Linked DNA regions of Homo sapiens: all the other regions are linked to region 2. Evidence: promoter capture Hi-C in 16 types of primary human blood cells and fetal thymus (Javierre and others, 2016). All regions are on one chromosome and are shown on one strand. The core of a region is centred on a gene start or on the middle of the fragment in contact, and the rest is flanking DNA. Distances in the headings are between cores, read along the strand shown. Region 1 holds the start of CEP72 (centrosomal protein 72). Region 2 overlaps TRIP13 (thyroid hormone receptor interactor 13). Region 3 holds the start of SLC9A3-OT1 (SLC9A3 3' UTR overlapping transcript 1).

Region 1 (3,088 bases), core at 582-3,081, 290 kb before region 2:
TCCTCTGCACAAACCCTGTGTATACCCCCTGCACACACCTCTACACATACCTTCACACACCATGTATACCTCCTGCACACACCTCTGCACACACCTCCTGCACACACCTTGTGTACACTCCCTGCACACTGTTGCACACACCCCCTGCACATAGCCTCTGCACACAGCCTGTGTACACTCCCTGCACAGATCCCCTGCACACACCTCCCACACACATCCTCTGCACAAACCCTGTGTATACCTCCTGCACACACATCTACACACACCTCCTGCACACACCTTGTGTACACCCCCTGCACACTGTTGCACACACCTCCTGCACACACCTCCTGCACACACTGTTGCACACACCCCCACACATAGCCCCTACACACACCTCTGCACATACTGTTGCACACACCCCCACACATAGCTCCTGCACACACCTCCTGCACACACCTCCTGCACACACTGTTGCACACACCCCCACACATAGACCCTGCACACACCTCCTGCACACACTGTTGCACACACCCCTTGCACATACACCCTGTATATACCCCCTGCATACTCCTTATGTACAGCACTGCACATACTCCCTGCAGAGACCCTGTGTGCATCCTCTGCACACACCCCTTCTGTATACTGTCTGCACACACCCCCTACATGTACACCCTCTGCACACTCCTCCTGCATACACCCCATGTACACCTTCTGCACACACTCCCTGAACACATTCTGAGTACACCTCCTGCACACCCCGTGTACAACCTCTGCACACACCCCCTACACACTCCCCTACACACTCCCCTACACCATCCACACACACTCCCTGCACACAGCCCCTGCACACATTCCCCATGTACACCCTCTGTCTGTGTATACCCTCGTCTACTACCACCATACGTACCCCCCACCACTACCCTGCCTTGTCTATCACCCCCCAGGCTGTGACATACCAGGGATGTTGCCAACGAGCTGGTCTAATCTGGGGTGAGGGTTTCTGGGTGCCCCTAGACACCAGGAGAAAGGCGGGGAGGGGACACCCCTGGGGGTCTGGATTCACTCCACCAGGCGCTGGGCCACAGTGGTACGGTGACACAGTAGATGTCTTGAGCAGGATTAAAGTCTTCCCAATAAACAGGCTGAACTCTGTCTTCCTTGAAAGCTCTGTAGAAGGACCTCACAAGGATAAACACAGCGAGACCCTCCAGGGCGCGGTCAGCCACGAGCCACAGTGCTGGGCCTGTGACATCTCTGGAGGTTCTGGGGTGGAGAAGGACCGGCCGTGGGGAGTGACTGGCTGGGGAGAAGCTCAGCTCCCGCCCACCTCTGGGAGGCCCGGGGCTGGACGGGAGGTGCAGCAGACAAGGCTCCGGGCGGGTGCTGGGGTGTCTGGAGGGGTCCCCGCGGGGGGGTCGGGTTGGGTGGGGAGTCTAGGTGAGTCGGGGGTCCCCGGGGGCGCTGGGTTCAGGGTGGGAGCGGAGTGTGGATGGGGCAGGGTCCCCATGCCCACCACCAGCCGCGATTCCACCGCGCCTACTCGGGGTTTCCCCGGGAGGACACCGCGTGTGTCAAGGGCCGGGGCCTAGAAGGCGGCCGCGCCCAGGGAAGCCTTGACAGGGAGCTATCTGGGGCGGGGGCTGGGGTCGCGTGGCCAGTACCTGGGAGAACCGCCATTCAGGAGAACCCCCCGCCAGGCTCTTGGTTCCGCCCACGCAGTCCCGCCCCCTCCCCCAGCCACGCCCCTCGCCCCGCCGCGCAGGCCCCGCCCCGTCCCGCCAGGCTCTCGGTTCTGCCGACGCAGGTCCCGCCCCTCTCGTAGCCTCGCCCCGCCCGCCGCGCAGGCGCCGTCCGAGGGCTCCGTTTGAAACATGGCGCGGGCTGGCCCTCGGCTGGTGCTGAGCGAGGAGGCGGTTCGGGCGAAGAGCGGCTTAGGGCCTCACCGCGACCTGGGTGCGCCGGAGGGCGGGCGGGGGTGCAAGCGTGAGGTGGCGGGGGGGTGGGTGCCGAGCTTCCCGGGGCGGCGGCGGACCGTGGGCAGGCGGGACCCGTCTACGCAGGCGCCGCGGGCGTCCGGAACGGTCGCGGGCGAGCGGGGCGCGCGTGTCCAGGTGAGCGACCCACCCCCCGTGCCCAGGTGCGGCCCCTGCCCGCGTTCGGGTCCCGGCGTCCCGGCCCCTGCCTGTCTATCGGGTCACTGGTTCCGTGACTGGGGGTTACATCCGCTGAGAAGAGGGAGCCGGCCTTGCTGTCCAGGAGCGCAGCCCGCCCTCCCGCTGGGGATCACCTCCCTGGTTCTCCTGGGCCCACTCTGTGGTGATTGTTGCGCTCGGCCTTCTTGAGGATGTTGGTGGCCGGTTTCCTTCTTTTTGGCTTATTTTTGTCTGGTTTTGGCGTCAAGGTGAAGCCGAGCTCATAAACTGCTGAGAAGTGTTGCCTTCTCTTATATTTAGAAGAGGTTCTGTAGAGTGTGTGCTCATTGTTTGAATGTTTCCTGGAATTTTCCAGTGAAACCATATGGACATGTCAATTTCTGTTTTTGAAGCTTTTAAATGACAAATTCTGTATCTCTGGTTGTTAGAGAACCGTTCATATTAGTTCACCGCGAGTCTTGGCTGTGTGGGGTTTTGTGGCATTGGCTTATTTGAGCTAACTTGTGGAGTGTGTGTGTTGAGTTGTTTCTGGTGTTCTGTTGTTAGCCTGTTAATGTCTGTGTGTGGTCTGCAGGTGTTACTGGACCAACAGGTTCAGTCAGGTGCTGTGGGGGCCACAGGCCAATACACTGAGACAGTGGGGTTTGCAGCAGAGAAAGAGTTTAAGGCTGGCAGGGGCCCAGCAGGGAGGTGGAAGGAGGCCTCAATCCATCTCCCCAAGGAGATCTGAGCGGTTTTTTTTTTTTAGACGGAGTCTCACTCTGTCGTCCAGGTTGGAGTGCAGTGGCACAATCTCAGCTCACTGCAACCTCCACCTCCCAGGTTCAAGTGATTCACTCAGCCTCCTGAGTAGCTGGGATTACAAGCACGCGCCACCATGCCCGGCTAATTTTTTATATTTTTAGTAGAGACGGGGTTTCACCATGTTGGCCAGGCTGGTCTTGAACTCCTGA
Region 2 (2,795 bases), core at 69-2,568:
TTAACCCCTGCACCCTCTTCAACGGGAAGGGTCTTTCCCATGCCAGCAGCTGGCTAGAAGACTATCACTCAGCTGTCCTCTGCATTGATAGTCTGAGACTATCACTCAGACTGCTCCTCTGCATTGTGGCTGTTGTTATTTTGCGAATAATAACTGCTGTATCATTCTAGGGAAGGAGCTTACTCATTACTTGATAAACAAACCCCTTAGTGGTTTTGTTTAATGTTGGCACTTTAAATAAAAGTGATCATTTTGTTGCTCTTCTTATATTTATAATAGTAATAGCCAGTGTTTTTCCTTTTCCCTTTTGGAAGCACCTTCTCTTCTGAAATGAAAGCGTTTGGAGGTGATGATCTCTTAGGAGGCGGCCTCGCTCCCTGTGCTCCCTCTTCTCATGTAGGATTAAGCCCTGGGGGAGGGCACATTTCTTGGGGACCTTTGCCTTGTTGGTATCTTTGTCAAGCTCTTTTCTTTTTCTCTATCAGCTCCTCGATTATGTGATGACAACTTTACTGTTTTCAGACAAGAACGTCAACAGCAACCTCATCACCTGGAACCGGGTGGTGCTGCTCCACGGTAAATTATGCAGGCTTTTATTTGACCAGATAAGTGGCATGAAATTTAGCCTTTACTTGTACCTTCGTCCTTCTGCAAGGAGTTACGGCTCTTTGTTTTCTGAAGGAGCCACAGCTGTCCTAGAATGTCCCCTCTCTGTGAAGCAGATCCAGCTCATGACACTTGGGACATTTTTTGTTTGTTTGTTTGTTTTTGTTTTTGAGACAGAGTCTCGCTGTCGACCAGGCTGGAGTGCAGTGGCCCGATCTCGGCTCACTGCAACCTCCACTTCCTGGGTTCCTCCCAGGTTCCAGCAACTCTCCTACCTCAGCCTCCCGAGTAGCTGGGATTACAGGCATGCGCCACCACACCCAGCTAAGTTTTGTATTTTTAGTAGAGACGGGGTTTCACCACGTTGACCAGGCTGGTCTCAAACTCCTGACCTCAGGTGATCCGCCCGCCTCAGCCTCCCAAAGTGCTGGGATTACAGGCTTGAGCCACCGCGCGCGGCCCCTGGGGCATTGATTACTCGGCACTTAATCAAGTCTTCCTGTGGGGGGCCACATTCCAAGACATCCTCAGATGCCCCAAACGTGGATAATACTAAACCTTATGTAGACTATTTTTTCCTACAGACATTCCTATGATAAAGCTTAACTTATAAATTAGGCTTGTAGTACTCAGAGCTTTACTTTGTGAGGAGTAAACTGAAAAAGCCATATTTTAAAGAAATTCTGTCTGGTTCTTCTCAGGAGAAAATACTGATGGTTTGTTGTTTGGTTTTGTTTTGTTTTGTTGTCAATATCACCGGGTAGAATGGGGACACGGGAATTGAGTGGACTCGAGAGTATGAAACTGTAGCCAAGTGTTAAATAGAAGCTTGAAGGGTACTTGGCTTCTTTAAGTCAGTTAAGATTGCGTGACAAAGTGACCTTAAAACACAATGTTCTTTTAAAGAGCAGACAGGCCCCGCATACTGCCCTCATAGCACAGTCAGAGTAAGCAGCAGGTGTTTTAATTAGTGAAATAAGTTGTTTCTGTTTGGAACCAGTTACGTATTTCCTCTTTAATTCTTGAAAATACCTGCAGAAAATTAGAGTTGTATGTCTCCATTTTCTGTTAGATGCTTTCCTTTTTCCATATTGGTCACCTCGCAGCTTCTGTGAGGCATCTTTTGTAGGGTCCAGCCCCACAGGGTTGGTGAGTTTTCTCCCCATGTGCAAAGACGAGAGAGTGTAGAAATAAAGACACAAGACAAAGAGATAAAAGACAGCTGGGCCTGGGGGACCACTACCACCAAGACGCGGAGACCGGTAGTGGCCCCGAATGCCAGGCTGCGCTGATATATATTGGATACAAGACAAAGGGGCAGGGTAAGGAGTGTGAGCCATCTCCACTGATAGGTAAGGTCACGTGGGTCACGTGTCCACTGGACAGGGGACCCTTCCCTGCCTGGCAGCTGAGGCAGAGAGAGAGAAGAGAAACAGAGAGACGGCTTACACCATTATTTCTGCATATCAGAGACTTTTAGTACTTTCACTAATTTGCTACTGCTAGCTAAAAGGCAGAGCCAGGTGTACAGGATGGAACATGAAGGCGGACTAGGAGCATGACCACTGAAGCACAGCATCACAGGGAGACAGGCCTCTGGATGACTGCGGGCGGGTCTGACTAATGTCAGGCCCTCCACAAGAGGTGGAGGGGTAGAGTCTTCTCTAAACTCCCCGGGGGAAAGGGAGACTCCCTTTCCCGGTCTGCTAAGTAGCAGGTGTTTTTCCTTGACACTGACGCTACCATTAGACCACGGTCAGCTTGGCAGCGGGCTTCTTCCCAGACGCTGGCATTACTGCTAGACCAAGGAGCCCTCTGGTGGCCCTGTCCAGGCATAACAGAAGGCTCGCACTCTTGTCTTCTAGTCACTTCTCACTATGTCCCCTCAGCTCCTATCTCTGTATGGCCTGGTTTTTCCTAGGTTATGATTGTAGAGCAAGGATTATTATAATATTGGAATAAAGAGTAATTGCTACAAATTAATGATTAATATTCATATATAATCATATCTAAGATCTATATCTAGTATAATTATTCTTATTTTATTTATTTTATTATACTGGAACAGCTCGTGCCCTCGGTCTCTTGCCTCGGCACCTGGGTGGCTTGCCGCCCACATCATGCTAGGGGACGCTTGGCAGGCAGGCGTGCAAGAAGAGTGCTGGCCTCTGCCTCTTCTAGTATGGGGT
Region 3 (3,219 bases), core at 243-2,742, 430 kb before region 2:
TCCCAGCAGTTCAGATGGGACAAACTGGGGGCCTGTCAGAACAGCCACTTGTGCCGGGAAGGCCAGGCCCCGGCCTGCTCCGATGAACGTCAGGACGGTGGCTGCAGCAGGGAACCAGGGCTGGCCTTGGATCTGTCCAGTAGGGTCACTGACTGGGCAGGGCTTGCTGCATAGAGGATGGCTGCATTTTGTGCTCAGAGTTGGTTGAAATGGCTACGAAGTGTGGAGAATAACCACTGAATCCCAAAAAGTCACTGCGCTTGATCTGATCCAAGTAACAGTGACTGCAGTTAGGGTCGAGAGCTTCTCCGAAGCAGCGGTCATGCAGGCTTTTGTGTGGCTGACGCTTCCCTTTTTCACAACAGTAAAAAGCTATCAATGGGAAATTGTGGACTTTTCCCACCAGGGACTCAATGGGGACTCAATGTGCAATATTCAGTCAACATAAAACTCTTTAAGAACTCCTCCTGACTGGTGACTGTCAACACTTGATCTGAAACGTGAATAGTTTAATTTTCCTGAGCAAGGAGCTGCGAGTCTAGCTTTAGAAAAGCCCCTAGGAGTGTCCACCTCCACCACTTCCACCGTGCAGGCAGGTTTCAGGTGGGTTGGACCCTGTGGGACTTGCCGTCTGAGGGATGGATGGACTCCGAGCACCCTCCCCGGCTCAGCACCCGCGGCCTCCGCCCACTCAATGGACTGTGCCTCCCAGAGCTTGGGCTGGATGGTCTCCCTGCAGAGGACCAGGAGCTCTGTCCAAGGCCTCGCCCTGGGACGCTGGAAGGGGTGGGAAGGGTCAGGGGTCCGGGGTCTAGGACAGGCTCAGGGGTCTCAGCAGGTTCTCCTTGGAGGGCCTGAGCCTGGTAGGGGGGCGGTGCCCTGGGCCCCTCCATGCCCCCTGGTTTGTTAAGGGGGACAGAGCAGCTGCTGGGCCCCACCATCCACTTAAGGACTGGCCGTGATTCTTGGCAAGCTCCGCCCGCCAGGCCACCTCTCACCCAGCCAGGGCACCCCGGGCGACCTCCGCGCCAGGTGCGACAGCTCAGGCCGGAGACCTCGTCTGTGGGGACGGGCCGTGTCCGGGGCCGCCACCCTGAGACCGGGCGCGGGCAGGACGGAACCTGGGGGGGAAACGGGGCAGGTACTGGCTTTAGGAGTCTAAATCCCCAAACGCTGAGCAGACGGAAGACGTTCCTGCCACTTTACCTGCAGTTCAAAGACCTGGCGAGGGCCTGGAAACGGCGCTCGGCCCAGGCCGCTTGCGGGCGCTGGGCCTGCAGCCGCTGCAGGTCGGGCCCTGAGTCCTGGCGCTCGGGAGGTCCCTGAGTCGGTCCCCGAGTCAGTCCCCGGGCGCGGGGCTCGGTTGGGGGGGCCCGGAACCTTGGGCTGGTTTCACGCAAATCCGTTTGGGGCGAGCCTCGGTTTCCCGGCAGCGGTGGGAAAGGGCGCGAGCGGCCAGCCATGGCGCGCGGACCCTTCCCGCCGGCGGCGTCACAGCGGCGTCTCCTCCTGCTCCAGCGCGTGCGGCGGTGCGTGGCACGAGGGCGGCAGCGACGCCAGCTTCAGCAGCGCGGGGCGGCGGCGCGCGCGAGGCCGCTGGAACGAGCGCCGGCTGTGCACGCGGCGCGCCGCCGCCGAACGCGCGTGCGCACTCGGCAGCCCTCGGCGCTCCGGCCCCGCCCCCGGCGCAGGCCCCGCCCCCGGCTCGCCCTCGGGCGGCTCTGCGGGCGCAGGCGCGGCACTCTCGGAGTTCTGCGCAGGCGCTGGCGTGGGCGAGGCGGGGCTCGGGGCTCGCGGTCGCTGTAGCCGCGCGGGGATCTGGGGTTTCTCTGGGACAGCGGCGGCGGCGGTGGGCGGACCGTGGCGCGGGGACGAGCGGCCGGTTAGCGGCGTGTCGGAGCCGGTGTCACCTGCGGGAGAGGAAGGCGTGAGCGGCGCGCGGAGCCCGGGCGCTGGGGCGGGAGGGGCGTCCCCGGGGGCCTCAGCTGTCCCCGAGCCCGGCGGCTCTCGCCTCCCCTCCCGCGGCGCACCCCAGGCTCGGCGTCCGCTGGGGCCTCCTCCCAGGACCCGGGTTCGCGGGGCAGAGGCGGAAGCAGCAACAGCGAAGCCCCAGCCCGGCCCCGCCACGTCCCCCCGCCGGGGGTCCCGGGACAGCGGCCTCCTCGGCGCAGGAAGGTCCCGCCCCAGGCCCTGCAGCGCGGGAGGTCAAGGTCCCCAAGGGGACCTGCTTCCTCCATCTCAAACCGCCCTGGCGTCCCCCGGGTGCCTCCCAGGCCCCCAGAGGGAGCTCAGAAAGCCCAGACCCCACGGCCCGCCCCTCTCCCTGCTCTGAGCTGGAGGCAGAGTCCGGGTCTGCGGGGCCGGCCCTCCCTGTATCCCTGTGAGAGGGTCGGGGACCCGGGGCGTCTGTCTGGCTTCCCCCAGCCCTGCTCTCAGCTCCCTGGGAGCGCAGGATTTGGACTCGCGGACTAGCTTTCGGAGCCACCTAAAGGAAATCTCAGGCGGCCCTAGTGCCCTCAGCTCCGTGGGAGCAGCAGAGACGCCAGAGTATCTCTGTCCGGGCTCCTGAGGGAGGTGCGGCCAGCAGGGCGCTAGAGGAGGAAGAGGGGCTGCTGGAGAGAGAGAGCGCGCCAGGTTCAGGTCCAGGGAGGAGAGAGAGCGAGCGCGCGAGGCGGAGACCTGGAGGGAGAGGAGCTGCGGAGAGGGGTTAGGCGGGGAGGGAGAGAGAGAACCAGGTTCCGGTCCAGGGAGGAGAGAGACAGCGCGCGCGAGGCGGAGACCTGGAGGAGAGGAGCTGCGGAGAGGGGTTAGGCGGGGAGAGAGAGAGAGCGAGCCAGGTTCAGGTCCAGGGAGGAGAGAGACAGCGCGCGCGAGGCGGAGACCTGGAGGGAGAGGAGCTGCGGAGAGGGGTTAGGCGGGGAGGGAGAGAGAGAACCAGGTTCAGGTCCAGGGAGGAGAGAGACAGCGCGCGCGAGGCGGAGACCTGGAGGAGAGGAGCTGCGGAGAGGGGTTAGGCGGGGAGAGAGAGAGAGCGAGCCAGGTTCAGGTCCAGGGAGGAGAGAGACAGCGCGCGCGAGGCGGAGACCTGGAGGGAGAGGAGCTGCGGAGAGGGGTTAGGCGGGGAGGGAGAGAGCCAGGTTCAGGTCCAGGGAGGAGAGAGACAGCGCGCGCGAGGCGGAGACCTGGAGGGAGAGGAGCTGCGGAGAGGGGTTAGGCGGG

What was found. The method cuts DNA at HindIII sites, captures the fragments that hold promoters and counts their contacts. A CHiCAGO score of 5 or more calls a contact.
Region 1: the fragment with the promoter of CEP72 here is called in contact with a fragment that was not itself captured in region 2 in 15 of 17 cell types (megakaryocytes, total B cells, naive CD4 T cells and 12 more); the score reaches 10.7 in megakaryocytes.
Region 3: a contact is called between the fragment with the promoter of SLC9A3-OT1 here and a fragment that was not itself captured in region 2, in 2 of 17 cell types (M2 macrophages and endothelial precursors). The highest score is 7.7, in M2 macrophages.

Annotation. Positions count from the first base shown.
Region 1 is chr5:610,509-613,596 of GRCh38, forward strand. It overlaps CEP72 (centrosomal protein 72), which reads left to right and starts at 1,832. Exons shown (of 12, transcript NM_018140.4): 1 at 1,832-1,935. The coding sequence starts at 1,854. CEP72-DT (CEP72 divergent transcript) reads right to left here and starts at 1,702. Exons shown (of 3, transcript NR_103444.1): 1 at 1,644-1,702; 2 at 939-1,245. RefSeq lists enhancers at 755-1,685, 1,686-2,615. The HindIII fragment of the contact is 7,839 bases long and covers 1-2,525 here.
Region 2 is chr5:900,856-903,650 of GRCh38, forward strand. TRIP13 (thyroid hormone receptor interactor 13) reads left to right here. Exons shown (of 13, transcript NM_004237.4): 5 at 486-576. Among named protein-coding and RNA genes, the nearest start is that of TRIP13, 9.4 kb to the left of the region's middle. RefSeq lists a silencer at 2,239-2,533. The HindIII fragment of the contact is 227 bases long and covers 1,206-1,432 here.
Region 3 is chr5:471,473-474,691 of GRCh38, forward strand. SLC9A3-OT1 (SLC9A3 3' UTR overlapping transcript 1) reads right to left here and starts at 1,493. Exons shown (of 2, transcript NR_024158.1): 1 at 1,207-1,493; 2 at 1-493. It overlaps SLC9A3 (solute carrier family 9 member A3), which reads right to left. Exons shown (of 17, transcript NM_004174.4): 17 at 1-1,910. The coding sequence ends at 1,907. SLC9A3-AS1 (SLC9A3 antisense RNA 1) reads left to right here and starts at 1,764. Exons shown (of 7, transcript NR_125375.1): 1 at 1,764-1,927. RefSeq lists enhancers at 445-1,087, 1,088-1,728 and silencers at 972-1,101, 1,462-1,531, 1,652-2,471. The HindIII fragment of the contact is 27,849 bases long and covers 1-3,219 here.